Regions from separate parts of the Homo sapiens genome. Here all the other regions are linked to region 1. The links are contacts of gene promoters, found by promoter capture Hi-C in blood cells and fetal thymus (Javierre and others, 2016). All regions are on one chromosome and are shown on one strand. Each heading gives the region's core, a stretch centred on a gene start or on the middle of the fragment in contact. The rest is flanking DNA. Distances are from core to core; before and after follow the strand shown.

Region 1 (7,334 bases), core at 3,607-6,106:
CTAAGGTAAGAGCATGAACTGTTAGGGCTTGTAAGCCCAGTAATGCCACTTTTTAGCAGTGTAACCTAAAGAAAGTAACTTAACCTCTCTGTGCCTAAGTTTACCCATCAGTAAAATGAGCTAATTATGCTATCTCCCTTATAGGGTTGTTGTGAGGATTCAGTGAGTTAATACTTGCAAAAGGCTTAGAAGAGTGATTGGCCCATTGTAAGGATTAGATAAGTGTTTGTTAAATAAACTGTACAAATTGCATCTCAGAATGCTTGGATTCAGAGACATATTTTCTTACTTGAGGTCACAAGGACTTGGCACCATTCTTCAGCTTCTCTCAGGCCCAATTAACAGCCTGCCTGGTGGAAGGGAAACTGGGAGGTGAGAAGTGGGGCCTCCATGGAGTGTGTTAACCTGGGATAAGGCCTAGAACTAGCCACCAACACTCAACTCCTTTCAGCCTCCCCAGGAAGACAACCCATTGCCTCAGGCATCAAACACTCCAAGTCAGCAGTTCCTATCGTTCAGAGGTTGACACTTTTCTTGGAAAATAAGATTATAGCTATAGCTATAAATACAGAACCGTAAAAATGCATATAAAATTGTGTATATTATTTCTGGAAGTTCACATATCCTTAATTTCATGTACCCCAAATTAATTTCACGCACTCACCTCTTGGCTGGGTGCTGTTCTCCAGTACTTTACATGCATGACCTCACTTCAATCTCATAACACTCTTGAAAGGCTCAGGAAAACTGACACACCCACTATACAACAGAGAAAAGATTCAAATCCAGGTCTGTTAAATGCCAAAGCCTGTGCTTGTAACCATTTAGCTTTACTGTCAAGTTCTGCTACACTACACTTCTTTCATACTAGAAGATGGGACAAGAAAAGGAAAAATCCTTGAAAATATGCCATGTTGCATTTTTACTAAGCAAAGCATATATCAGAATTTTGCATACAACCGAAAAAGTTATTCTCCATTCATTCAACAAATATCTATGGACCACTTACTATATATGTGTGTATATACATATGCTATCTGTACATATACATTTACATCAAAGTACATATAGCTTACAAAGTGTTCCATTCTCCATAGGATGCTGTGTAAAATTTTCAGAAATATTTGAAATGGGGTAGATGTTCACCATCAAACCACCAGCCAAACCTGATACTAATTTCAGAGCAAGTGACACTTTCAGAAACTTTCCAAAAGTCTAACTGGGGGCCTATGCTCAAGATACAGAAGAGAAAGGGTGCTATAGGGCAAAGCTGACCCCTCACTAAATATCAGGCAGATTATCCCAGGCATCAGAGAAGCAAAACAGCCTACCATGTATACTGAATCTATATTGGAAATTAAATATTTCCAAAACTGAAGGAGACAATTTGACCACACCCTTTGCCCATCCCACCTTGGTTCGGCTCCCCCTAGCCAGCCAGGGAGGATTTTCAGGCATCTCTAATAAAGTTGGGACTAGTGGACTTGGGCTCTCAGTGTTTTCACCAGAAAAGCTCACAGTCTTATTGCCTTCAAGACACTTCTATTCTAAAAGTACAGACAAATACCTATTTAAATGGCAACGGAAGGTTTACAAAATGATAGCAAACACAGTAGCAAGCCACCTCCCTCTGGCTCCCAGCAGCCAAACCACAGAATCTATAAGATTTTGAGAAAGGCCAGGTAGGTTCCTAAAGCCCTGGGCTTGGGTGCAGTTATAAGGTAAGCTTCAGGTTCCTAAAGAAGTTGAGCTTTGCATAGGGAGGGGGTAGATGAGAAATCAACAATGGACAGACCAGAAAAAATAAATTTAAAGGTTTTCTTCTCCTGGCTAACAAAATAGAAAAATGATGGGAGAAATGTTTTGTATCTTTTTAAATAAATACATGAAACATATCTCCGCTTAAGCTGATTTCCTGAGCCACTGGCTGGGCTACCTTAGGAATCTTGAGTCCAAGAGGAGAAAGTAAACGTGAGTTCTACCAGAAGTCTTGACCCCAGAGAAAAGATCAAACATTCACAAAATGGAAAGGGATTTATAAAACAACAAATAAGACAATAATAACAGATTTGAGCTCATTACTAAAGAGTATGGTGAGAGAAGAGAGACAGACCCTCTCATATTGTTTTATATTGTTTTATACTCAGAAAAGGAAAGAGAAGCGAAATTAAAGGCAGGTAGCCCGGCACCTAGGAACCAGACCTGAAACCAAGGAACCAGACCCGAAACCAGGCCTGGGCCTGCCTGACCTAAGCCTGGTACTTAAAGATCGACCCCTGACATAACTGGTTATGTTATCTATAGATTCCAGACATTGTATGGAAAGACAGTGTAAAAATCCCTATCCTGTTCTGTTTCGTTCTGATTACCAGTGCATGCAGCCCCCAGTCATGTACCCATCATGACCCTCTCACGTGGACCCCCTTAGAGTTGTGAGCCCTTAAAAGGGACAGGAATTGCTCACTGGGTGTCTGAGGAGTTTTGTCTGTGGCTCCTCCTGCTACAATGGAATAGGCAATACCTTTTTTAAACAACTCTAAAAGGCTGTAAACAGTTAAAGGAGACAGAATTGGGGTGGCTGCTGATAAGAAGGGTGTTTACAGTGAGCAAAATCAATGCAGGGACATGTATTTAAAGGTAAGTGACCCCCACCCCCACAAGGGGCTATGATCTAAAAGCAACTATTGTTGAAAGGTGAAGTACAAAGTAAAGGAGTCCACAGGGGAAATAACTGAATTAACCAAAGCCCCAAGCCAGGAGTCCCACCTTAGTTAAAATCACCCTGCTTATCTCCACCTCAATTTGCTGGGCAACCCAACTTGAGAAGGATGTTTACATTACTTAGGCAGCATGGCCCATTTTTACTTTTCACCCAGGTGTTGTGGCGCAAGGCCAGATGTTTGGCATCACCAAGCAAAACATCTATGTGACCAAGCTGTTTACATTTCATTAGGATTTTTCATCAGGAAGGTGCACTCCCTGCTGATGCACATCTTAATTACAATTAGGAGCTCTATTTACCCCCAGGAGCTTTCAGATTAGCACGACCACATTATAGGATCCGTTTCAGAAATCATCCTCAGAAAATGCTACTCTAGCTTCCAAAAACCATCTCTAAGAAATCAAAATTTCACACAACTTCCTTCCAGAGTGTGTTTTCTACCAAGAAAGTCAGCTAACTTTTAGTAAAAACTAATTCTGCATTCGTAGTCTATGTAGTGAATACATCTTTTTCCTCTCAACTGCTAAGTAGCGCAGAACTTTTTCTTTTCCTAAACACAGTGCTAACTTAAAAATGAAAGATGCATGATAAAAGAGCAGAGATCTATTTATCCGCTCAGGTTTAGGGCTGGGAGTGGGGGAGGGCAGAATCCAAAGGCTCCTCACCCCCTCAAGGGATGCATGTTAAAAGTGAGGCCCGAGACCCCGGAGACTTTAATCAACTTTCCCCCTCCAACCTCCAAAGAATGAATCGGTTGTCTCCACAGGCTCAGCCGGGCTCTTCCCTCTCATTGTGTACCGGCTCAGACGCAGCAAGGACCCCAGCTTCCCGCAGCGAACTAAGACGCTCCGGCTTGCGGTGAAGTCTTTCTCTAACTGTTGCGATTGTCTTTAGAGATTACCAAAATCAAATATGCATTAGATGGCTTTTCCCCCTCTTGTTTGTAACACGCACACACACACGCGCGCGCGCGCGCGTGCACACCCAAAGCACTTTGGAGCCGCAGGCCGCCTCTGACAGCACATTTTGCACAAAGTGGCAGCGGCTGCAGCGGCGCACAAGTTTTGGCCTCTATGATGACTCTCGGGAGGGCCGGAGGGCCGGGGGCGGTGGCGATGCGAGGCCGCCGGAGCCCCAGGAGGACAGGGCTTTTGTTTGCGTCGATCCGCGAGCCGCCTGGGCTCTGGCGAGCACCACTGAAAATCCAAACTCCCTCCTGGACCGCGCCTTCCGGGCCGGCTCGCAACTTGGGGGCAGGATAGACTTGCCTGAACACCGGCTGGGGCGCGCTAGAGGTCCAGGGAGACAAGGGGGGACGCCCTGCACAGAAGTGCCCCGATCACCCCCAGGACCCTCAAACCCCTCCACGCTTCCTGTCAGCGCTGACAATCGCTGCTGCGCACCGAGGAACGAGTCCCTGGGCGCGCCCCGGCCCGCCGCGGGGCTCCGGGGCAAACCCTGGCCTGGCGGGGCTCCGGGGCAAACCCTGGCCTGGCGGCGCCGGCGAGCCCCGTGGCGGGTGGCCGGACGCGCCCCGGAGCCAGCGCGGCGCTTCCTGCGTGTCCCGCGCCCGGCTGGACGGCGGAAGGGTGGCCACGGGTCAGGGGGTCTGGGCGGGCGGGGGCCGGCGGGCGCCTCTTACCTTGGGCAGCAGCCCCGCGTGCGGCCAGCAGCAGCGCGGCCAGCAGCGCCAGGAGCGGCGGGCGCGTCCCGCGGCGGCGCGGCCGGTGCATTCCTCCTCTCGCTGAGGCGGCGGCGGCGGCGGCTCCCAGGCCGCGCGCAGAACATCCACGGGCTCTTCCCGGGCTCCCGGCCGCCTCGTCCCGGCCGCTGGCGCTCGCAGGACGCCGGGGACGTCTGCAAAGCTCTTTGTCCCTCTAACCTGCTCCCTCGCCTCCGCCTGGCCGCCTCTGGATGCCGCGAGCGCGATCCCTTCCCAGCCCTCTGGCTGCAGCCTCGCCTGGGCCGGCGGGTCAGTCCCAGGCTGTCCGGGTCGCACCAGTGGGCGTGAGTCGCCCTGGGTCGGACTCCGAGAACAGCGCACCCTGCGCCCAGGGGCTGCCGTCCCGGGGCTCCCTCGGCGGCGGCGGTGGCGGCTGCTCCAGCTCTCCACGCTCCCTCTCTCGCTCAACTTGTCACTTTCCACCAACTCTCCAGCCCAGCGCCCCAGCCCCGACCAATGGGAGACGCGGCCCAGGCTGGCGACCCAGCGCCCTCTGCTGCAGCCTCTCAACGCCCGCACCCTCCCCGACTTCGCAGAAAGCGGTCGCGGCTCCCGCGTCTCGGGCACGCTCCCTCCCCTCCCCTCCCCCACACTCCTCAAACTCGCCACCGAACCGAGCGCCGGGGACCTTCGAGGCTACTTGACAGAAGGGGAAACCGAGGCTCAGAGAGACTTATCCGGGATCTCAAGCCAGTTCGTGGCTGGACGACAGTAGACCCAGGTTCTAGCAGCCTCAGCTGTGTCACTGTTAGCTGTGTGACTCTGGGTAATGGCACATTTATTGCTATCATACAATTTCCCTTTTGCTTTCTTCTTGGACCCAAGAGTTGAGAGAGTTCTTACACAAGTAATTTATACTTCGCCTTTTTGTCTTTAATTTGTAGTCTCACTGAATTCAATGTCATCTGTACTGCCTCCTGGCAAGATTTATTGAGGATTATCTGTGGTTATTTTTGCCAATGTCCCATGGTTTTTTGAAAGGTGTTTTTGTCTTCCGAATGTGAAGATAGAATACTGTATCGATTTATCTTCTTTGTATTCATTATTTTTTCAGGCCTTCTGAATCTTTGCATGTTTGTTTGTTTGTTTGTTTTTTGTCTAGCTGCTCTGCCATGAGCCAAGGGATCATTAAAGACCTCTACAATGAGTGTGTTTTTGTCCATTTCTCCTGGTTTAACTTTATGGATTTTGTAATTCATAAATACCCATAATGATTTGACTTTCCCTGTAGAGACTGCCTTTGATCATAAAAAGTGGTGAGCGCCTGCTGTTTTCAGGGCTGTGCTCTAGGCTCTGAAGATGCAAGGGTAATAGGACACCTGTCAGTCTTGCTCTGGAGGAACAGGAAGAAGCCCATAGTCTCTCAATAATCACGTGGCCACTTACTAAATACCTCCTGTTTGCCTTGTGTTTTATATGCATTTGCTCACAAATCCTCCATTGACACTAAAAAGAGTCATTAAAAGTATATACTTCTTAGCTGTTTTACATATATTATCCCCATATTACAGTTTTAGAAATTGAAACTCAAAGGGAAAGTAAATGACTTGCCCACAGTCTCACAGACATGGGGTAGCCAAGCCAGCACTCAGGCTGTTTCCACTGAGAGAGTTAAAGCCTGTAACCAGAGCCTGGCACATGATAAGCACTCACTCGGGAGTTGTTGCTGTTGCAGTAGCCTCTAAGAACCCAGCTTTAGGGTTTTAAAATGAACAGTCACTTCATGGAGGGCGAGGACTCTGTCTCAATCATCTAGGTATCTTGCTGGCCTCTAACAGTACCTGGAATGCAATAGGAGCTCAATTAATGAACAAAGGTTAGGTCACCATTTGGAAAATATTAATTTCTCATCATATTTGTTTTATAGGGGTGCATGGAGGAGGGACAAAATTTCATCCATACTCCTTGGCACCAGGAAAAGCAGATCCCTGAGAGCTGAGACATTAGAAGGGGGAAAAAATGCAGCCCAAAGTATGTCCCAGCAGGTCATGGACTCCAGACTCCCAGCCCTTTGCCTTCAGGCAGGTGAATGACTAACCCATGCGGGACAAACAGTCACTTATTCTTCTCCAGGACTTCATGGCAGGAGCTGTGTCGGTAGTTTTCCCCCTTTCTATCGCTCTGACCTGAGGTCAAAAAATGATAGACAGAGAGGCCTTGGGTCAACCAGTTCATTACCTACATTGATCTGTCCCCCAAGTTTCTCTGCCTGAGATCTATTCAATCCTGTCCCAATTATCTCGCTTCTTGCCTGAGGAACTTACTGCACAAGGTTCTCTTGTTGGGAAACAGTCTTTGATGGTCAGTCTTAGTATATCACAGCCCAGAAATCAGAGGATACTCAGTTACACTGCACAGTGCTGGGCAGTCCTCTGTTGTCTACAGTCAATACACACAGTTGTCAGACAAGGAGCCTTTCTCATCCACCCACCCTGCCCCCAGCCCCCACCCTATAACTCCTAGGCCCAGGTATCTTAGGTAACAGACAGCTGCTAGTGCTGAGTATACAGAACTTAATGGCACTTTTATCAGTACTTAAACTTCCAGGAACTTAATCACAGAATCATAGACATAAGGAATGTGAGACCTGGAAAGGGCTTTGGAAATTAACTAGTACACCCCCCTCAACATTTTATACAGGAGACATGTGGGACTTAGGAGAGTGAAACCGCCTTGCCCAAAGCTGGCCAGAGCCAAAACTAGGACCTAGACCTACCAGTCCAGACCTGGGTAAGGACCATCATCAAATCATCCCAGATTCCTTCAGTTTAGCTATAGCACACAAGTTTCCAAAGAAAAGGTTAGCAATGGCCTGGCACGGTTGCTCATGCCTGTAATCCCAACACTTTGGGAGGCCAAGGTGGGTGAATTGCTTGAGATCAGGAGTTC
Region 2 (7,334 bases), core at 2,619-5,118, 230 kb before region 1:
GTTTGCTGCTGTCAGTGTCTCCTAGTTTAATCAATTCCAGGCCAAGTTTTTATGTTACCATCTTGGTTTGTGGCTTGTGCAATACCTGAGAAGAACCTCAACCCCACTCCCACATGTAGTACAGGCTGAGGTTTTGATTTCTCCTGGGTGATCCCAATGGCCCAAGGTGCTTCATAGATTTCTGTATCACATCCTCAGCAGAATTTTCCTTATTTCATACTTAGGCCAGTCATTCTTCATTCATATCCTAACGCAGGGAGTTTGTTTCCTGTGGCTCCAACTCTTATCCCCATGGGATACCAAAACTCTAGGCCTTAGAGAGTACCCATAGTTTTCAAATTATCATGGACTCTTTTGCTTAATTCCTCCTCAAAGATCATTGTACTAGTATTGAACTTGTTCTTCATTTCTGGAACCTAGGGATTTCACCTCTTTGTGTACCAGCTTGGCAATGGATTATTTTCTTCATTGTATATTTCACTAGTATCTCTCTGTGATTGGAAGAAGTGTCTCTTGAAAGCTCAATCTACCAAATTGACCAGAAGGCTTTGATTATGCATTTAGCTATCAGTCTTTCCAAATAGTCTCTGAGTTCATGGAGGACAGGGGCCTTTGCCTGGTTTATCTTTATATCCTAATTTTCATAGAGTTCCTAGACCAGAGTAGGAATCGATAAGGTTTTGATCAACAAATGATCTTCCTCTCTCATTCAAAATGGAAATTAAAGAATATACACTAATTACCTTCTAGAGAAAGATGATGCCAAGCATCCTCGTACCTCCAGAAAGCCATCCATACTCTCTGGAAGTCTGTGTTGAACAAATAAAGGAGTCTGGGGCCTGCCTTTATCCTTCCCTTCAGCCAGCAGGTTCATACTATTGACACCACTACTTTCTTAATGGGCAACTACTACTAATTACAGTGCTGGTCTGGTAGAAATTCCAAGTCTGGCAGGCTGGGTTCTAGACTGCTGGCTCTGCTGCCTTTCTTAGCACACATTGATGCTTTTCTATTGCCATAACTGGAATCTGATCAATAACATGCAGTGTGCAATGATATAATTTTTCTGTTGGCACCATAAGGAACTTGCAGAATAAGTTCACAAAAAAGCACCCAGCACAGTGCCTGGCACAGAGCAGGTACTAAGTTAATGTTCAGGGTCTTTTATTTCTTCTTTTCCATTAAACATATTCTATAAATATTTGTTGAAAATCTGCTTTCTAGGCATTGTGGTTGATGCTGGAGGTGGAGAGGAGTAACATGGAGTGCCTGATTTAATATTTAATAGAAAAATAATGTCAGGTCAAATTTGGCAATAGAAAAAATATTCTAAATGTCCTTTGATTTAAGGTGAAAAGACATCTCACTTCATTCCACCATCCTAAAGTGCCTAGTAAAGTATAACCAGCAAAATAACTTCACCCATTGCTGTTTTATAAAATAAACTTATCTCTTCTCAGAGAGGAAATACAACTTACAGTGAATGTATTAGTAGATGTATTAGTTTGTTCTCATGCTGCTATAAAGAACTGCCCAAGACTGGGTAATTTATAAAGGAAAGAGGTTTAATTGACTCACAGTTCTACATGGCTGGGGAGGTCTCAGGAAAGTTACAATCATGACAGAAGGCACCTCTTCACAGGGCGGCAGGGGAGAGAATGAGTGCCCAGCGAAGGAGGAAGCCCCTTATAAAACCATCAGATCTCATGAGAACTAACTCATTATTATGAGAACAGGATGGGGGAAACCACCCTCATGATTCAATTATCTCCACCTGGTCCCTCTCACAACACGTAGGGATTATGGGAACTACAATTCAAGATGAGATTTGGGTGGGGACACAACCAAACTATGTCAGTAGACAATAGAGAGCTAATCATAAAAGACCATTTATGACAATGACTTTTGAGCTCCCTTTACCACTGTAATCTCAGAACCTTGAATCATGCCTGAACTAAAGTAGAAACTCAGTAAGTTTGCTGAATGTATTTGCACACAAATATGTATGGCTATGGCTTCTCACCAGGTAAGATGTGACTCATCATTCCACACACATTTATTGAGAATTTCCTACAAATAAGAGTTTGTGCTAGATTTTGTGATGGAGACCAAAAAAAAAAAAAAGTAAGATAGAAACCCTCCTACAAGGAACTTCTAAGCTTAAGGGTGAGATAAGTATATAAATCACCATAACATCATATAGAAAATGTGAAGAGAAGAACAGAGAAGAAAGAGAGCTATGGGAGTTTCAAAGAGGGAAAGGCCACTTCCAGCTGGAGGGATTAGACAAGACTGGATAATGTAAATTTTATGCTTGGTCTTGAGGGAGAAGTAATTTGTTGCCTTGCAAAAGGGGGAGAATGAGTATTGGCAAAGAAGAGAAGGCAATCCAGGTGAAAAGGTGAGAGCAGAGAGGCAGAAAAGCACAGGATGTATAAGAAGAAATCGAAATTTGGCTGGAAATGCATAAAGGGGAATAAAGATAACTAAGGCTAGAAAGGTAGATTGAGCCAGACTGCAGAGGTTTTGAATGTGTCCTGATGTACCACTCCAGGACATAGGGTCTTTATAAAATACCCAATGCTTAACATATGGCGGGGCTTAATTAATGCTAAACAACAATCTCCTAGCAGAAACCTGTTCCCCACGTGCACAAAGGAAGCTGCCATCCTTATGCACAGGCAATTACAAACATTCCAGATACTCGGTCCTGAACCCTGCAAGCACATCAAATGCTCATCGTGAAAGGTCACCGAGCAAACAGCTCTGATGAATCCTGGCTTGGGCTGAATCAAATCCCCTAAATAAGATCCACTAGATGTAGTGTCAGAAAGGTCAGAAATGACCCTATTTCACATCTTGAAGCATTTTTACCATGTGGAACATTTTAGAGGAAGAAGAAAAAGGAACGAGGGGGGGAAAGAAACTCTCCAGAAATAATAGAATCCCAAGTAATTCAATGTTAAATGATCACAAAGTAAGCTGGGGATTTATTTTGGCCCCCACCTCCTTGCAGTGATCTGAAAAACAGTTGATTTCAAAGAAGGTCATGCCAGGATTAAAAACAGTTCCACACCTCTTTCCTCGCCTCCCCTGTGTGCCCCCACTGTGTACCTTTGTTGAGTTCACTTGAGATGTTCCATGATGAGGTAGGCACTAATTCAGCACTGACTGACAGCTCTGTTTCTGAAAAGAAAAAGAAGGGAAGGGAGAAAGACAAGGGCAATATTAAATATAGTAATTTATAGGCTGTTAGAAGCATTAGAGGAGATTTCCAAAGGGCCTGCCTTTGGAGAGAGACCACGGCAATCCCATAGCTTATTAGACTGGAATGGTGGCTCTAGATGCCAGTAGAGGCGCCTGCATTTTAGATGCCATCCAAATGAACAATCTATTGGCCAGATTTGAAGATTTTTACTTCAAAACACTGGCTTGAAAATTAAAATGTAAAATATTACATTAACCCTCTCAACATCACTTACCACCAGAGAAATGCAAATCAAAACCACAATGAGATGCCATCTCATACTAGTCAGAATGGCTATCATTAAAAAGTCACGCTGGGCACAGTGGCTCACACCTGTAATACCAGCACTTTGGGAGGCCGAGGCAGGTGGATCACAAGGTCAGGAGTTCGAGACCAGCCTGACCAACATGATGAAACCCCGTCTCTACTAAAAATACAAAAATTAGCCCTGCCTGGTGGCATGCACCTGTAATCCCAGCTACTCAGGAGGCTGAGGCAGGAGAATCGCTTGAACCTGGGAGGCGGAGGTTGCAGTGAGCTGAAATGGTGCCACTGAAATCCAGCCTGGCTGACATAGCGAGACTCCATCTCAAAAAAAACAAAAAAAGTCAAAAAATAACAGATGCTGGCAAGGATGCAGAGAAAACGGAATGCTAATACACTGTTGGGGGAATGTAAATTAGTTCCACCACTGTGGAAAACAGTTGGGAGATTTCTCAAAGAGCTAAAAATAGACCTACCATTCAACCCAGCAATCACATTACAAGGTATATACCCCAAAGAAAATAAATTATTCTACCAAAAAGACACCTGCATCATATGTTCATCACAGCACTATTCATAATAGCGAAGACATGGAATCAACCTAGGTGCCCATCAACAGAGGACTGGATAAAGAGAATGTGGTACATATATACCATGGAATACTATGTAGCCATAAAAATAATGAAATCATGTCCTTTGTAGCAACATGGATGCAGATGGAGGCCATTAGCCTAAGTGAATTAACAGAGAAGCAGAAAACCAAATATCATGTGTTCTCACTTATAAGTGGGAGTAAAATCATAGGTACCATGGATAGGAGCAATAGACACTGGAATTACAAAAGGATAGAGGGAGTGGGGCAAGGGTTGAAAAACTACCTATTGGGTAGTATGTTCACTATCTGGGTGATGGGATCAATGGAAGCCCAAACCTCAGGATCATGCAATATACTCTCACAACAAGCCTGTACATGTACCCTCTGAATCTAAAATAAAAATGGAAATTGCAAAAAAAAAAAAAAAAGAACAAGGGCAAAATACACCTCGCCCCTAAAATACTACATTAACAAGAAAACAAATCTGCAGAAATGACCACACATAATCAAACATAAACTCCTTTTCTTGTTGAAAGACCAGTCTTAGACTAATAAATTTAATAGCCTTCCTAAGGAAGAACAACATTGCTCCTGTAACTAATTTCACTGGTCGTGTTTGGAATTGTTACCATTTCTGTGAATAGAGAAATTCGTTTCTCTACATTGGAATTTTAGGTCAAGACAAATGAAAGCTAAGTATTTGAATATAGAGAGTCATTTGTGGTAAATAACTTAAAATATAATTTTCAAAGCCATCATGAATCAAAGCAAACATACAAATCAATAATCTAAAGGACATAATACACTATGAAGTACTTATGGACTGTTAGAAGTACTTACGGGCTGTTAAAACTCTTTAATAATAGACTGTAATATACAAATAATCTTGGTTGTTGTTCTTGTTTTTTGAAAATTTAATCCACGCTACTAATATATTGTAATGGGGTTATACTAACCTCCCCTCAGGCTATGTCTACACACACACACACACACACACACACACACACTCAGAACATTACTAGAGAATATTAGGGCTGGACAGGACCTTAGAGGACCCAGGGTCATTAGCTATAAGGCATACAAGTTGTCAATCCCTCCTACTTCAATCCAGTGTAGGCATCTTTAATCAATTATGGCTCTGTTTACCTGTTAAGCCTGGGATCTGTCGTAGAGTCCTTTAAGCACAGTGCTCTAGGTAGCCACTAAAAATTGATCTGAGATAGAATGCAGGATGAACTTTATTAAGTGGAAGAATTGCAATTCAAACCCAGGTCTCTTTGACTCTAGCACTCCACACCTTCTGGCAGCCCATGCTGACCAGTACTCAAGCCTGTAAAACCTGGCTTTTTTTTTTCACCTTACCTCTGGCCTCACCTTTTCACAGAGATAAGCACATTTTTCGTATTTCCATATTTACTGATGGTGACTGTCTGCCAAATGGCCACATGTCATCGTCACTGACTAAGCTTGAACAAGAACAGGATGTTGACTCACTGAGACCTTGCAAAGGCATACTTCTAGTTTATCTCCCTGCCACAGCAGAGACAAAAGGATTGTTTGGTTTGTGCAGACCTCCTTGGCTTACCTCTTTCCTAGTCCTAGAAGCAGGTGGGAAAGAAGTAGATGAACCACACATACCCTCCCCACCTACAGTGGCCCTGGTTTCCTCCAACGTCCTGAGCCAAAAATAGCATAGACTCTTTCAAGGGGACCAGATGTCAGATAGGCAGTATGGCAGGGATCTTAATTCCAAAATATGAAAACAAAAAGAAAATTTTACCCAAGTAGGAGAAATGCTTACTACAAAGCCACAGTGGAAAGCAGTGCTTCTGTTATCAACCTCTTGTTTGGGGAACGGGTATTTCGTGCAGGTGCTTTCCCCAGAAGAGCTAATTGTCTACATTTCAGGGCCCTCCACATATGACTCCAACCCCAACTCCAGTCTGAGCCCCATGCTGCTGCCACCCACTTTGGCTCTTTCAATAATGACAGCCCTTGTTTTCAGTAGTATGGACTGCTGCGGTTCACCTATGAAAAGGCTCATCAAACACCCCGACACCCAGACTTCAGGGAGCTTGGGAATAGAAGGTTGGCAGCCAAGGCGGCATTTCAGGGAAGGAAGCATAGGTTGGAAAGTGGTGGGATTAAAATGAACCTTGACAGCATTTACATGCAATATTTTCATAGCTTCATCTTACTGCTGCTCACAGCCAGAAATATAGTTTCATTTTACAGTGTTAATTTTATAGACAGTTAGCTATATGTCACTTGGTTTTTCCAAGCTGAGTTGAATTGCTGATTGAATATAATTTGGGACCAATGACAAATGAATAGATTCTTGGCACTGCTAACACTGAAATTGTTCCCCACGTGTCCCTGGACACTAATTACCACTCAGTTCTTGGGCTGTAGCAAAGATAATTTCAATTCGCAAGCTCATTAAGTGATTGTGCTGATTCTGGGGAGTTTTGTTCTCAACTTCAAGATCCATTCCTTTAGATAACCACGTGTTCAGCTTCTCAGATAAAATGATAATAAAAACAGATAAAATATTTTAAAATATGAATAACTTCCCTGAAAAATAATATCTTCCAAGGCCATATTTTTTTAAAATAAAGGCTGATTATTTTATGTAGAAAGTTGAATATTAATAATCTCCCCTCACAAAGTGATGTTTAATAAGCTTTTTTTCTTCACTGAAAGGAAAACTGAAGTTTAAGTGAGAAAAATCAAGCACATCTCAGCTGAACTCCATCAATTCCATGGCCACCAGTGGCTTCAGAGAGAGACACGGCCACAAGTTTTGACCCTGTAGGATCTCCACTGATGGATTCCTATTCGCCTCACCACTGGCAAAAGCATGAGACATTTCCAGGTATATTTACCACCAGCCTGGCAGCCTCTCTTCACCAAAAGCATTATGGTAATAGCAAATGTGTATGTGCCATTTAGAAGACAGTAGACTATTTAATGGAAATACACACCAGATTTTAACACTACTATCTGACACTTATTAATTTTGTGATCATGAGAAAGTTACTGAACATCATTTAACTTCTATTTTCTCATCCATAAAATGGGAGCAGCAAAGGACTGAGGTAATGATTAACTAATGGACCAAAAGACTCCTGTACAGTGTCCAGCATAGAGACTCAAGGGCTTTCATACCTCTCCTTTGTCTAGTAAGGCAGACAGTGGCCATCCTCTGCATGGATGTACTTGGTTAGC
Region 3 (7,334 bases), core at 2,425-4,924, 180 kb before region 1:
AAACAATTGCTAAGTGGATGAATGGATGAATGAGTGAATGCCTCCCCACACTCACTCTTGACCACCTTTCTAAATCACACCTTTCATTATGTAATTTTCATTCTCCCAGGACAGAGCCAAGGATTAATGCCCCATAATTTTCATTGATCCCCATCCCCTTAGTAACCCCAAATAGGATACCATCCAAGTAAAAACAGTGTGTTTGCTATGCAGTGTAGCTTTAGGGCAAGACCTCAAAACTTTACCACTGCCCTTTCCCAAAACCACCCTCAAGTAAATACACAACCTAGGTAAAATCTTTTGCTTGCTAGCTCTAAGACAGATCCTCTACCCCTTCCATCACCCCTACCCTCCACCTGAGAGCTATCCTTAAATTGCTCCTAGACAGAAATTTTGGAGTCCCCACTATTCTCAGGGCACTCAGGTATTCACATTAGTAAATATCAAATTCCCCTGGCCTGGCTTCAAGGCTCTCCATGCTTCAGGCAAAGGTACCTTTGCAACCTCATCCCCAGCACTCTCCCTCAGAGAACTCCAGCTCCAGGCAGCACTGGTCTGTCAAAGGCCCTCAGACAGGTTACCTTTCCTAGCTCCATGCCTGGGGCCCTGCAGTGGCTGCCACTGGCCTTCTTTCTATGCTGAACTCTGCCCACTGGATACTTCCAGGCCCATCTTAAAGTCAGCTGTGAGGCCTCTGATGTCCCATGCTCTCTCCTTCCCTAGACTTCTAGAGCACTGGCTGTCCAAAGGCTGCCCACAGCTCATAGAATGAAATCCAAATTCCTTACCTAGGTCCTCCATCACCTAGTTCTGCTTTTCTCAATTTCTAGGACCTTCCTCGAAAAGGCCCAGCATGTTCCTGTTTGGGGGCCTTTCTATTTGCTATTCCACCACCTGGAGTATTCTTCCCCCATATGGCCCACTCTCTCACCTCCTCCAGATCTCAGCTCAGACCAGAACTGTGAGAGCCCTTCCTTTCCCATCCCTTACAAAACAGCTACACTTTACCACCCCATCGTACCCTAACCCTATATCCCCCCTTGACCTATTTCATTTTTAACCATTGTCACCTGGGACATTATATAGGTATTTGTTTATTTTCTGTTTCTCTTTACTAGAATGGATGCTCCACTAGGACAGGGACCTTATTTTTTTCATAGTAGTGCCTGGCACTCAGTAAATTGATATTTAATAAATGAACCAATGAATGAATGAATCTACTATTAAACTCCATCTTAAGCACAGCTCGTCTACACCAATTTTCTTTTTTCTTAAGGCTCTTAGACTACACCAAGCTTGTTCCCTACTTCAGCATATTTGTACTTCTGGTTCTCAGGGGCAGATCCAGGTTTTATGGGGTCTAAAGCTTCTATAACTAGGTGTGGGTAGGCAGAGTGGGCAGCATGTGGGCTGGTGGTGAGGGGGGGGTGTCTTTAAGAGAAATTACAAATGCAAAATAGCTAAGGCCCCTCCTAGGCCCCTGGAGAGGCATAAAGGGTGGAGCCCAGAACGTCATCTTCATGGCTCCCTGGGAAATCCTCCCACACACATTCCTATTCCCTTTGCCTCTGTGTGAGAGATCATTCTCTCTCAGGTCTCCTGATGGCACCTGCTGTGCCAGCCAGGCCTCCGTTCAAAGTTGTCCCCTCCTCAGAGACGAGTTCTCCCCAGCCCCCCTCTTTTACCCTATTTTCCTCATATCACTTTCATTGACTGACATGATCTGTATTAGTATTTCATTTAGTTGCTTATTATCTGTCTTTACCACAAGAACGTCAGCTCTTAAGGGACTTTGGTGCAACAGTGTAGGGTGCCTGGAACAATGCCTGCCTCATAGTCATGCTCTAAAAAGCTTTGCTGCAAAAGAAAACAAGCCCAACAGCCACCTCCCACATTCTCTGAAAACCCAAATGATAAATTAGATCCTGGTAAAGAAATTAACTGTCCTCTTTACCTCCCTTCTCTGTGACCTCTGAGGTGAGCCATGGTCATTCTTTTGCTAACAACCACAGACAAGGAACCACTTACTGGCTCTTGCAGAGCTCCTTCTACTTCAGCCAATCCCCAAAGAGAACTTCCTGCTCCTAAAGGATGAAAAGTTCAGGGCTTTATTTCACATGTTATTTTTGAATTTGCTAGGATTTTCTAGTAAATGTAGTAAAGAGTATTGTTCGATGAAGGTTTTTGGTTGTATTTTCATCATCCTTTCCCATGATGAGTGGTAATCTCACCTGTGTAGGTGTATAGCTTTGATGAAATTTCAATGTCATTTTCTGCTCCCTTCACTGTGGTATCAAAATAGTTTAACTCTTGCAGGGAATCTCTCATGTATTCCCCTTAAAAGTGTTTGATAGCTCACTGGCTCCCAAATCTGGCTGCCCTTGCATTCACCTGTGGTGCTTGTTAAAAACAAACATTTGGGGAACTTGCCCTAGGTCTGTCAGAGGCCTTGGAACCAGAGTGACTCCATCTTGAATAGGCATTGGGTAAAATGAGGCTGAAAGCTCCTGCCCTGTATTCCCAGGAGGTTAAGCATTCAGAGTCACAGGATGACATTGGAGGTTGGCACAAAATACAGGTCACAAAAACCCTGCTACTAAAACAGGATGCAGTAAAGAAGGCAGCCAAAACCAAGATGGCGATGAAAGTGACCTCTGGTCGTCCTCACTGGTCATTATATGTGAATTATAATGCATTACCATACTTAAACTCCCACCAGCACCACAGCAGTTTACAAATGCCATGGCAACATCTGGAAGTTACCCTATATGGTCTGAAAGGAAGAATTCCCAGAAAACTCATGAATAATCCACCCCTAATATATCATATGATCAAGAAATAACCGTTAAAAACAGCCAAACAGCAGCCCTGGGGCTGCTCTGCCTATGGAGTGGTCATTCTTTTATTCCTTTAATTTCCTAATAAACTTGCTTTCACTTTAATCTGTGGACTTGCCTCGAATTCTGTCTTGCGCAAGATCCAAGAATCCTCTCATGGGGCCTGGATTGGGGCTGCTTTCTGGTAACTGGTCCACTTAATCAGAATCTCCAGAGGCTATCAGGACATTCCCTGTGTTTAACAAGCACCTCAGGTGATTCTGATGTTTAGCCAACTTTGGAAACTGCGGTGATTCTAACAGATTTGGATGAGAAAGGAATCTTCAAGATACTTACAAAACGAAGGTCAAGACAACTGGACCAACCCAGAAAACACAAGTATGTTTACGAATGTCGTCTAATGAAAAATGAAAACATTCACCCCACCTCCACCCCACACAAACCATTTTCCTTGATTTGTACAAGTTAGGGCACTGGCTGGACAGGGGCATTCAAGAAGGAAAAACTACTGAAGTCTCAAGTTCCCGGGCTACCCCCTTTGAGAAACTTAAGCATGTCTGAAAATGGCATGAAACCTTTTCAATTTTGAGACAATCAAGCAGGAGACTGAAGGAGTAAATTACTAAGCCCTTTGCACCTGGAGGAATTATGGCACTTTCCAGACACATTCTGTGAATGTGGGCCAGCTCCTGGAGGAGTGAAGCAGAAAGAAAATAGCACCCGTAAAAAGGAAACCCTCCAGGTAAGCTTGGGAAAGCTGCTGGAACACTCTAAGCCTCTGTTTCTTAATTCACAAAATGGGCAGAAAACCAGGCTATCTCACAGAATGAAATAAGTTCAGGTTTCTACAGAAACATTATTCAAATGTGGCTGTTCTCCTGCCTATCCCAAGCCAGGCTCAAATCTTCCACCTTAATGGAAGCTTACCCCATTACCTCCACTCAGGCAAAAACCTTTCCTTCTCTGGGGGGTGGGGAATGGAGTGGGAAAAAAGAAAGTCATTGGTAAGAAGGTAAGGAGCAATAGGTAATCAGGAAAAATCACCTGATGAAATTGAATTCGGACCTGATTTCGTCTATTTTAGCCTTTCCTTTTTTCTTTTCCATGTCCCCGACTTGCCCTAACCCCTTTCTGTGCAAGCACTCACTCCTGCCTTCTTTATATGGAATGGTTCAGATGCCTGAGCGGGGCTTGAGGAAAGTACACCTGGCTCACTGCAGTTCTGCACAGCACACTGGAGCACATGTAGGGTAGCTCATTAAGCATATTGTACAATGTCACAGAACATATCATGAGTTATAATGTCATAGCAATGAAAAATTTACTGTGTGTCTTAGTTCAGGCTGGCATAACAGAATATCATAGACCGTGTGGCTTATACACAACAGAAACTTAAATCTCACAGTTTTGGAGCCTGGGAAGTCTAAGATCAAGGCACCAGCAGAGGCAGATTCAGAGTCCAGTAAGGCCTCGCTTCCTGGTTCATACAGGGCTTTCTTTTTGCTGTAAATCTCATGGCAGAAAGAATAAGGGAGCTTTCTGGGCCTTCTTTTATAAGGACACTAATCCAATTCAGAAGGGCTTTGTCCTCATGACCTAATCACCTTCCAAAGGCCCCATCTCCTAATACCATCATATTGGGGGTTAGGGTTTCAATATAAGAATCCGTGGCAGCAGAGAGTGGACACAAACATTCAGTCAGCATTATGTATGTTCACTGGTTTCCAAACTTCATGGCCATCTTCTTTACTGAACATCTACTAGGCATTAGGGTTGGTACTGGGAATATGGTGGTGAGCAAATGAGACAAAAATATCTGGCTTATACCCTCTGGAAGTATCAGATTTCCCATAATATTATCAATATCAGTTATCAGGAAAAGAAACTCTCTTCTTTCCATTGAACTTTATAGTTAAGTATAGCAATCTCCAAATGTTTGTAAATCAGTAAAAAAAAAAAAAAAATTGGACCACAAACCTCTATTATATATGTATATTTATTTATTCAGAACTTACATACATGAAGTTCTGTACTATTATAGTATCTATTGTAAAACATCTACATAAAATAGAAATGTGTAGAGGATAAGATAATTTCTTTTCATTGTTTGTTTGTTTTATTATCTCAGGGGATCAACTTGCACAGGTCTAGAACAGTGTGGACTGGCTAAATCAATTTTAAATTCCACGTCAGTAACTTACTACCTGTGTGACCTTGGCCAAGTGATCTAACGATTCTGTGCGGCAGTTTTCTCTGTAAAGTGGAGAAAACAGCAGTACCCAATGCAGTGTTACTGACAGGGTAAAAATGAGATAATTTAGGTAAAGTATTTATTCCTGGCATATTATAAACACTCATAATGACAGCAACTATTAGCAACATAATATTATTATTACTAAGTGGTATCTGTTCACCAGCATGATTTCAGAAGACAGATTGTGTGTCTCCTAATATGAAATCCTAAAGGGTGGAGGATAGGCTTCATTGGTATCAGGTATCAGGAGGGCCAAGGGTTCAAGACCCAACTGGGGATCATATTCTCCACTGTAACAGATGCAGGTAGGACATTATGTCATGTGGTATATGTTCCCATTATAAATCTTCTTGCTTTAGCCCCCAGGAAGGTCTTCTAGCTGACACCAGCTCACACAGGTCTCAGCTATCACCTCCCGCCGGCCACCCCACCTCCTTCACAGTAAGCCCTCTTGGTTGATGGGGAGCCTGCAGTGGAGCTGGCTGGTACATACATTACAGGTTATTAAAGGGCATGGAAAAATGCTCAGGCTTCAATGCAGACCCAAGAGCAGTTTTCAAATTTCCCTGTTTGGATGGGAATGCTTTAACACTGAAGTATGTTTTCCTTGGCAGAGGTACCCTCCATTAGATGCAATTTCTTCCTGACATTTCAAGAATTGTTTTATGTCTGTGTTCTCTATAAGGAGTATCCATGGAGGTCAGAACGGAAATTATAGTTCTAAGAATGCCATATTAGCATAGATGGTAATGCATAAGCCCCAAGCTAAATATCCCCATTCTGGCTAGCCTGCCAGTGCGATGATTAACAAGTTGGGCTGCCATACAGGGGACTGTACTGGGCGCGCTCCCGGACTGCTGCTCCTGGGCCAACATGGGCAACGTGTGTTTAGTCTATCAGAGTATTTACTCAGGACGCCAATCACCGTGGAACCGAGACAGCAGTCTGAGAGAGGACTCCCTGAATCCCCTGGAGAACACGGGTCAGGAGAAGTAGATCTATTTTTTCACAAGATTCCTTTCCCAGCCTAATGTAGCCTCCACTGGCAGGAAGGATTTGGTATGCTGGTGAATCATGGTAGCTTCAGGCAAACCTGACTGTGAAAGGTATGGCTTCAGAAGGGTCAGAGGTCTGGTGAAGCCTTACTCCCTCCGTTAGGAGCCAGGCATGTGGTGGTATCCACCACCTCAACCCTTGACAAGATCACGTCTGGCATTAGGATATCCTTTGTACCAGTTTTTCTGTCTTGGATCCAACATGCCTTGAGGAAGCAAGGATGACCTGTGCCTGTCACAGATATACAGAGCCTGGATGTAGAAGAAAGAGGCCATGATTTAGAATCTAAATACCTGAATTCAAATCCTACCTCTGACCCTTAATAGTCATATAAATCATCTCACCCCTCTGAGCCTCTGTTACTTCCTTTATATAGTGGAAATTATATCTTTCTTCAAAGATTGCCTTAAAAATTACATGACAAAAACAAAAGTTGAGGTATATGCTCAATTAGTATATGTTGAAAATTGATTTAGCCATTCCACACTGTACCTATATATCAAAACATATGTTGTACACCACAAAAACATTTTTTTAACTTGAATACATTCGATTCTGTGCCACTGTCAAACAAAGTTAGAGGCAATATAGCATAAATTAAGCAGACACAAAACTGGTTAAACAGACATTGGGGAAAAACGCTGGGGGAGGTTTTCAGAGATAGTTATATCTGGAAGATGTTCTCTTCCTGCCCAAATTTATACCCAAACCTTCTAGTCCCCTTGGCAGTAAAGCAGAGAGGAGGAACCAATAGCTATTTGATTAGGTTGAATATTATAGTGTGTGTGTCCTGAGAGAGAACTATGAGCCTCAAGCACCTGCCCAGAGCCACACACCAGCCAACAGAAGCAGTACCAAGCCAGGGATAAAGAAATGTCACAGAGGATGTGTCTGGGCTATGACAGCCAAACTTTAATGAGTGCAGGAGAGAAGCTGAGAATTCTCTGTAGCTGAAACAAACTTACTTCTGATAGCACAATTGCCTAGGAGGACCAGGAAGCATGGAAGAAAAGATCCGGCAGAACAAGAGGGAGATGATTCCTCTATGATCTGGCCTGGGGGCTCCCCAGTTCTCCAAAGTAGAGGGACTAAAATTATCACTAGCACCATGTTGCAGCTAGAGCAACCTATGAACTGCACCTTCTTGTATTTTTGCTAAGAATCTATTTAGTAAACTATATGTAATT
Region 4 (7,334 bases), core at 1,826-4,325, 160 kb before region 1:
CCATGAGGTTGGTGTCACCAGCATCATGCCCATCTAACAGATGAGCAAACTGAGCCTTAATGAGTGTAAGTCTCTTGTCCAAAGTCACACAGAGGGTGACTGGTATGGCTCGGTTCAAACCAGGGGGGTCTAGCTCAGAGCCAGGCCCTTACTGGGAAGCTCAAGGCCTCTTGCTCCATACCGGCCACCCAGGTCCATACCAGTGGAGTTCACCTACAGGATCTTGACCTCGTTCTTATCATCAAATCCCTTATGTTCACCATAGGGGATTTACCATGAGGGATGTTTATCACTGCTTTATTGCTCTCCCTGACATACCTCCTCACCACCACCAACAACCCAAACTGAATCCTGCACCTGCAAAGCAGCAGCTAGCTGGAGGCCAAATCTGAGACAGAGCCCAGCTCCCAAGCCTTGGTGCTCCCATCAGCCCTCACCCTGCTTCTCTGTACTTCCTTATTCACTGTGGCTCATTGTGCAGAAGCTGTACTGACCCCACATCCAGACACGAAGGTGCGGAACTTGCTCTGGGTCTTGTATGTTCAGTCCAGGCAGAGGGCATGTCTCACCTGGGATGTGTATGTTCAACACTGCATGACATTTGCTGGTGGGAACACAGGCTTTATAGTCACAGCTCTGCCTACAGATCCCAACTTCACCAATTAGCTGGGTGACCTTGGTTTTCTCATTGAACCTCTCAAGGCCCTAATTTCTTCATTTAAATTACAGGCATAGTAAAGATTTTCAGAATTGTTGCAATTAGATAAAACGTACAAAGCAGTTGGTGTTCAATAAATGTTAGTATCTCTGCCCAAGAAATGGCAAGATCTTAATGGTCTCTTAACCCTTCTGCGATGGAGTTAGAAAACTTACGAAAGAGAGCAAAGCAACCATGCTTATTCATTCAGCAAATACTTATTGAGCACCTATTATATGCCAGACATTTGATTGAGGGTTTCATACTCCTACTGGGCTATTTAAGCCCACTTCTGGGGATGTAAAGGGACACTGATTAAGCTCCTGCCTAGTACCATGCAAGTAACATGGAGAATCTCAATGACTGTCACAACCATCTGAGGCCAGAATTATTAACCCTGTTTTACATATAAGGAAATGAAACGCACTGTGAAAGGTCCAGAAGCTTGGCCAAGGTCCCACAGCTATAAGATGCAGCAGGCACCACTACTATGCTGCCCTGTCTCTCAAGTTCCATCAGATGCCAGATGGATAATCCTTTCTCAGGACTCTTGGTCATTTTCCATTTGATCCCTCCACAGTGTTTAATTTAGGGAAAATTAAAAAGAGGGTCAGTTCTTATAATTTTCAACACAAGTCAATTAAGGCTGGCAAGATCCCTGGGCTCAATCTCAGGCCTTGCAACTGGGAAGGGAAGAGGCATCTTTCAGGACTCTTGGCAATTATTACAGAGATAAAGGGCTGTCAGACAGGTGGGCAAAGAAGGCTCAGAACTGTCACCACCCACTCTACCAGCTCTGGCCCTACACCTGCCATTCTACCACCCAGTTCCAGTCTTCAAGCTCCAGGTAAAAATCAGTGGAATGAATACCAAGCAAGCTGGGAGAATACCCATACACTGCCTCTCCTCTACAGCAAGAGCAACAGGATCAGCTGGATGCAGGTTCAAATCCTGCCTCTGTCACTTACTGGCTAAAGGAGTCACCTACCTCCTCTGGGACTGTTTTCCCTTCTATAAAGCAGGGAAAATAATGATAGATCATGATAACATCACTTGAGGACATCTGAGAATCAGGTAAGGTAATGTGTGTAAACTGCAGTTCCTTCTAAATGGGAAGAACCATCAGGGGCATCATTCTTCCTTGGCTTTGGGGGCAGTAGAAATGCTACCGACCAAGCCAGGATGGTAGAGAATTTACATGATGATGACTCTCATTGGTAGGCCTCACTTCTCATACAGCACCCAACAGCCTTTTTCTAGTTCAGAAGATGGGCTGAAGGAAGGGAGGCCGGGCTATTCTTGCCGAGACCTGAGTGCTGCCTTTTTTCCTCATTTTCCACCCAAGCAGAGGTCCCCTCTTTCTGCACACAATGGGACTCCATCAACCCACTTCCTCTCCATTCCCACTCAGCTGGGGCCCCCATAGGCCAGCCAAGAATCCTATCTATCACCCCTGCACCTTTTCCACCTCTTCCTCCCATGCCAGGCAACCTCCCCTTCACTCATTCTCCTCAGGTCTATTGAGCATCTTGCTACAGGCCAGTAACTGAGGTTAATAATACTGGCTTTATGTATTCGATGGCTCAGTGCCAGCCCCTGAGCTAGGTACTTTATAAATATTATCTAATTTAATCCTCACTGCAAGCATGTAAGGTAGGCATTATTATGAGTACATAATATGAGTATAGCAGTTTCCCCTCATCCAAAGGGGGTACGTTCCTAGACCCCAGTGGATGCCTGAAATCATGTATAGTACAGAACCCTATATATACAATTTTCCCCTATACACACATACCTGTGATAAAGTATCATTTATAAATTAGGAACAGTAAGAGATTAACAATAATAACTAATAATAAAACAGAACATAGTAATATGCCAGCATCACTACTCTTGCACTTTGAGGCCATTATTAAATAAAATAAGAGTTACTCAAACACAAGCACTGTGATACCAAGATGAGTATACACTGTGAGGATCTATCTGATAACCCAGATGGCTATGAAGTGACTAATAGGCTCTAGAAATTGTAGACAGCTTAGATACGCAGGACAAAGGAAGGATGCAGGTCCCAGGCAGAACTAAGCAGGAAGGCGTGAGATTTCACCATACTACTTGGGACAGCATGTAATTTTAAACCTAGAAGTTGTTTATTTCTGGAATCTTCCATTTAATATTTTTGGACCACAGTTGACTGAGGGTAACTGAAACCCTGGAAAGCAAAACCTTGGATAAAGGAAGACTACTGTACTCGAGGTTCTGAGATGTGGTCACTGGCCCACTGCCACAGAGAAGCTGGGATTCGAACCCATTTTGTCTGACCTCAGAGCTACGTACACCTCTTTCCACTGTTCTACACAACCTCTAAGCACTTCTGCTTATATTGTCTGTGATTTACTTTATTTTACTTTATGTTTTGAGACAGAGTCTCACTCTGTCACCCAGGTTGGAGTATGGTAGCGCCATCTCGGCTCACTGCAACCTCCGCCTCCCAGGTTCAAGTGATTCTCGTGCCTCAGCCTCCAGAGTAGCTGGGATTACAGGCACCCACCACCATGCCCAGCTAATTTTTGTCTTTTTAGTGGAGATGGGGTTTTGCTATGCTGACCAGACTGGTCTCAAACTCCTGACCTCAACTGATCCGCCTTTCTTGGCCTCCCCAGGTGTTGGGATCACAGGCGTAAGCTGAGCCACTGCATCCGGCCTTCTGTGATTTACTTTAAAGCTCTTGAGTACTGATATTGAGATGAACATGTGTGTTTCTAAGTTAAATTTAATCTAACTCTGAGGATGGATAGTTAACATTTGTGTAGCCTAAATAGGGACCTACATCCCTGCCATAGTTATTAACATTTCAAGTACACTAATTAGGAATTCACACATGTGAATAGAAGTTGGTAAGAATATAAAGGAGGAAACTGTAACCACTTCACATATTGCTATCTAAATCTGCATTTGAGGAGTCATTAATGAGGATCAGTTAATATGGGGCATTAGAAATAATTTTTCATTCATAAAATGAGCGATGGTCAGGAAATATGATTGGCTTACAACATCATATGGGCATCTCCACTCTAGCATGAACAAGAGGAGTCGTACCTAGGTCCAAACTTCTGTAAGGTCTTGTGTGTCCCACCCAGTAAGTCTACCACCTGATGCAGCTGGAAGACTGGCCAACCCTGATATCAGAATATTATGCTTGTCTTATCCTGAATTTTTTATGCAAGGATGGTTCATGGGGCTCAAGGACAGAAAGAAGGAATTACTTGGAGCCTAAAGAAAAGAGATTTACGATGATTTTTATGCTTGCTGGCTAATAAATGCTTGTACTTGTGAATAATTTAGCCTATGACTTGCTTTCATTGTAACTTGGGTTGCTGGGGAGGAAATGTGGTTCCCAAACCCACCAGAAAGAACCTGACCACTGTTGAACAGATAATGACTTTAGTCAGTTCACAGCAGAGTCCAATAAGCCGGAATCCCTGCCTTTAAAGTAAGAGAGAGGAGAACCCATTAAACAATGAAAACACATGGACTCAGGGAAGGGAACATCACACACTGGGGCCTGTCAGCGGGTGGGGGGCTAGAGGAGGGATAGCATTAGGAGAAATATCTAATGTAGATGACGGGTTCATGGGTGCAGCAAACAACCATGGCATGTGTATACTTATGTAACAAACCTGCACGTTCTGCACATGTATCCCAGAACTTAAATAATAATAATAATAAAAAAAAGTCCTAACACTCTGTCTACAGACTCACAGTGAGAGGCAGATTAATCTAGTTGTTAAGAGACCAGGTTCTGGGCCAGATTGCTGGATCTGAATTCTAGCATGAGTTACCCAAAACCTCCTTGTGCCTCTAGTCTCTTCATTTATAATCTGTTAATTATACTTCCTCCTAAGGCAGGATGATCACATGAGCTACTGAAGGAAAAAGCATACTGAACAAAAGAAAGCCTTTAGTAAATGTTAGTTATCATTACAGCAGAGAAGGAATAAGAACTGCTTTTCAAGAGGTACTCAGTGTTAGCTATTATTATTTACCATTTACATTTATTTACCATTTTGACCAATAAGCATACACTGCATCCCCAAGTACTAGAAGCTATGGAGATAAATAAGAACTATATAACATCCCTCTAGGCTGCTTTTCCATGGTCTCTGCCCTCAAGGGGCTCCTAATCTAATATGTGAGTCAGAGAAGCAGACAATCACATCTCCAATAAGGTAAAAGGCAAAGTTTTATGAAAGCAACCGAGAGAGAGAGAGAGAGAACTGAAACTCTGCTAGGAGAACTCTGGGAAAGCTTCCTAGGGGAGGTGATATTTGAGATGGGATTTAAAGAATAAATGGGATTTGGCCAGGGTAAACATGCTCACACATACGTGTCTATTTCCCAGCTTGCTTGTAACATTGCAAAATTCCCCAAGGTCAGGAATCATGACTTATCACACCAGCAATCCCAGTCCTCTACAGGATAGATGTCCAATATTCAGTGCTTACTGATGGGCAAAGGAAGCAAACATTATATTAAACAAGAAAAGGGAAGAAAGAGAAAACACACAGCAAAGCGGATTGTGGAGTCTGGAAAGGGTGGAAGCCCCATATCCCTGAGGCAGGAAGTGTCAATCTGCCTATTTGTGTGTTTGCTAGTATAAACTGTAACGGCTCTTTAAATACTAATCCTTTTCATCTGGGATGCCCCAGCTGGGTTAAATTTCCAAACCTCTCCCTCTGACTTTTATGAGCTTCGGCCTGTAACAGGGCCTGACAGAGGGCACACTGTGTCCTTTCATTGTTAGGATAAGGTAAAGAGCAGTCCGCAGCACAGCCCAGATCTTGGCCTCTCTAGAGGGTTATCCCAAGGACTCACTGAGCACTAAGTGCCAGGCACTGTTCTAAGAGCTTTATTTGTATTAACCCATTTATTCCTTGAAACAATTCTAGTAGGTAGATGCCATTAACATCCTTATTTTACAGATGAGAACAGGGAAGCTAGTCTTGTGATGACAAAGTCCCACAGCTAGTAATGGCAGAATTAGGATTCAAACACCACAGCCATGACCTAGGAGAGACTGAGAGCAGGTTTTTCAGGATGCAAGCCTATATAAGCTAAGTCTTATCACCACATTAGTGAAAGGTGTGCTATGTTTATAATTTGAGAATTTTGTGGGATACTGGGCATATCTGCTCCTCTTACCCTAATAACCATATTAGCGTCTTGCGTCTGCATAGGAGGCACTTCTGCCACGCCTGCTGTAAAATGACTAAGTTGCTAATAAAAGTAATGCTTCTCACTGTGACTGGTGCCAACCCCAGTCTCTGAGTGCCAATGGCCTCTTGGCTTTTCCCACCAACTTTTCTGGATGGCTCTAAGCAGACAAACCACCCAGACTGCTGCAAATGTTACTTGGAGAAGAGCACATGCCAGGAGCAACAAGAAAAGGGCCCACCCTCATTGCAGTTGGAGCTTTCCTAAGTAAATCCGTCCTCCAAAATAAGTTAATTACTCCTACCCAGGATTCTTATGGAGCTTGCGATTGCCAAGTGCTTCAAGATCAATTTCATGAGCATTTCCCCGACTCCCTGTATAAGATGGAATTGGCCATTTGACAAACGGTTTTGGTGACTTCCATGAGGACAAGGATGCAGGTACTCAGAGCAGCCTCACGGTTCAAAACCACGCAGTTGCCAGCATGCCAAATCATTAGGCTGGCTGGCAAAAAAAAAAAAAAAAAGGGAACCCCTTACATTTTGGTTTCTCACTTGTCAGTGGATCGCAAAGGACTATGGATAGTGAGATATTTTGTTAGGATTGAAAAGAGCATCAACCAAATTTTAACTCCTAAAAATCCAGAACAGGCCTAGTCGTTGAGGAAACAAAAGAAGCAAGATGGAATGTCCTGAAACTTAAATTCCTCATGATTGCAATGGAGTGGGTACACCTCTAGTTGTCTGAAAAGGGATGGGGCTTTGAGTCATGGATACATGGGCCTAACCCACCAATTACTAGTGGTGTGAATATGAACAATTCACCTTATTTCCATGAGCCACAGGTTCCTCGTCTAAAATGAGGATATCAACATCCCCCCAGGACTGCTGCTAGTTCAGAGAGGCTACTCTATTTTTTTTTTTTTTTTAAGAAAAAGAGGGAATCCTCTCTAACTCATTTTATGAGGCCAGCATCATTCTGATACCAAAGCCAGGCAGAGACACAACAAAAAAAGAGAATTTTAGACCAATATCCTTGATGAACATTGATGCAAAAATCCTCAATAAAATACTGGCAAAACAAATCCAGCAGCACATCAAAAAGCTTATCCACCATGATCAAGTGGGCTTCATCCCTGGGATGCAAGGCTGGTTCAATATACGCAAATCAATAAATGTAATCCAGCATATAAACAGAGCCAAAGACAAAAACCACATGATTATCTCAATAGATGCAGAAAAAGCCTTTGACAAAATTCAACAACCCTTCATGCTAAAAACTCTCAATAAATTAGGTATTGATGGGACGTATTTCAAAATAATAAGAGCTATCTATGACAAAACCACAGCCAATATCATACTGAATGGACAAAAACTGGAAGCATTCCCTTTGAAAACTGGCACAAGACAGGGATGCCCTCTCT

What was found. Contacts are between HindIII fragments. The CHiCAGO score rates a contact against its expected background, and 5 or more counts as called.
Region 2: a contact is called between a fragment that was not itself captured here and the fragment with the promoter of ROR1 in region 1, in 1 of 17 cell types (endothelial precursors). The highest score is 5.2, in endothelial precursors.
Region 3: a fragment that was not itself captured here is called in contact with the fragment with the promoter of ROR1 in region 1 in 1 of 17 cell types (naive B cells); the score reaches 5.4 in naive B cells.
Region 4: a contact is called between a fragment that was not itself captured here and the fragment with the promoter of ROR1 in region 1, in 1 of 17 cell types (naive B cells). The highest score is 6.1, in naive B cells.

The regions. Positions count from the first base shown.
Region 1 is chr1:63,771,539-63,778,872 of GRCh38, reverse strand. ROR1 (receptor tyrosine kinase like orphan receptor 1) reads right to left here and starts at 4,856. Exons shown (of 9, transcript NM_005012.4): 1 at 4,365-4,856. The coding sequence starts at 4,455. RefSeq lists an enhancer at 3,232-3,795 and silencers at 3,661-3,955, 4,740-4,789. The HindIII fragment of the contact is 6,004 bases long and covers 1,729-7,334 here.
Region 2 is chr1:64,005,157-64,012,490 of GRCh38, reverse strand. ROR1 (receptor tyrosine kinase like orphan receptor 1) reads right to left here. Exons shown (of 9, transcript NM_005012.4): 2 at 3,115-3,186. Among named protein-coding and RNA genes, the nearest start is that of ROR1-AS1, 100 kb to the left of the region's middle. RefSeq lists an enhancer at 5,480-5,774. The HindIII fragment of the contact is 3,413 bases long and covers 2,162-5,574 here.
Region 3 is chr1:63,945,803-63,953,136 of GRCh38, reverse strand. All of the region lies in intron 1 of ROR1 (receptor tyrosine kinase like orphan receptor 1), which reads right to left. Among named protein-coding and RNA genes, the nearest start is that of ROR1-AS1, 160 kb to the left of the region's middle. The HindIII fragment of the contact is 175 bases long and covers 3,587-3,761 here.
Region 4 is chr1:63,927,063-63,934,396 of GRCh38, reverse strand. All of the region lies in intron 1 of ROR1 (receptor tyrosine kinase like orphan receptor 1), which reads right to left. Among named protein-coding and RNA genes, the nearest start is that of ROR1, 160 kb to the right of the region's middle. The HindIII fragment of the contact is 3,864 bases long and covers 1,144-5,007 here.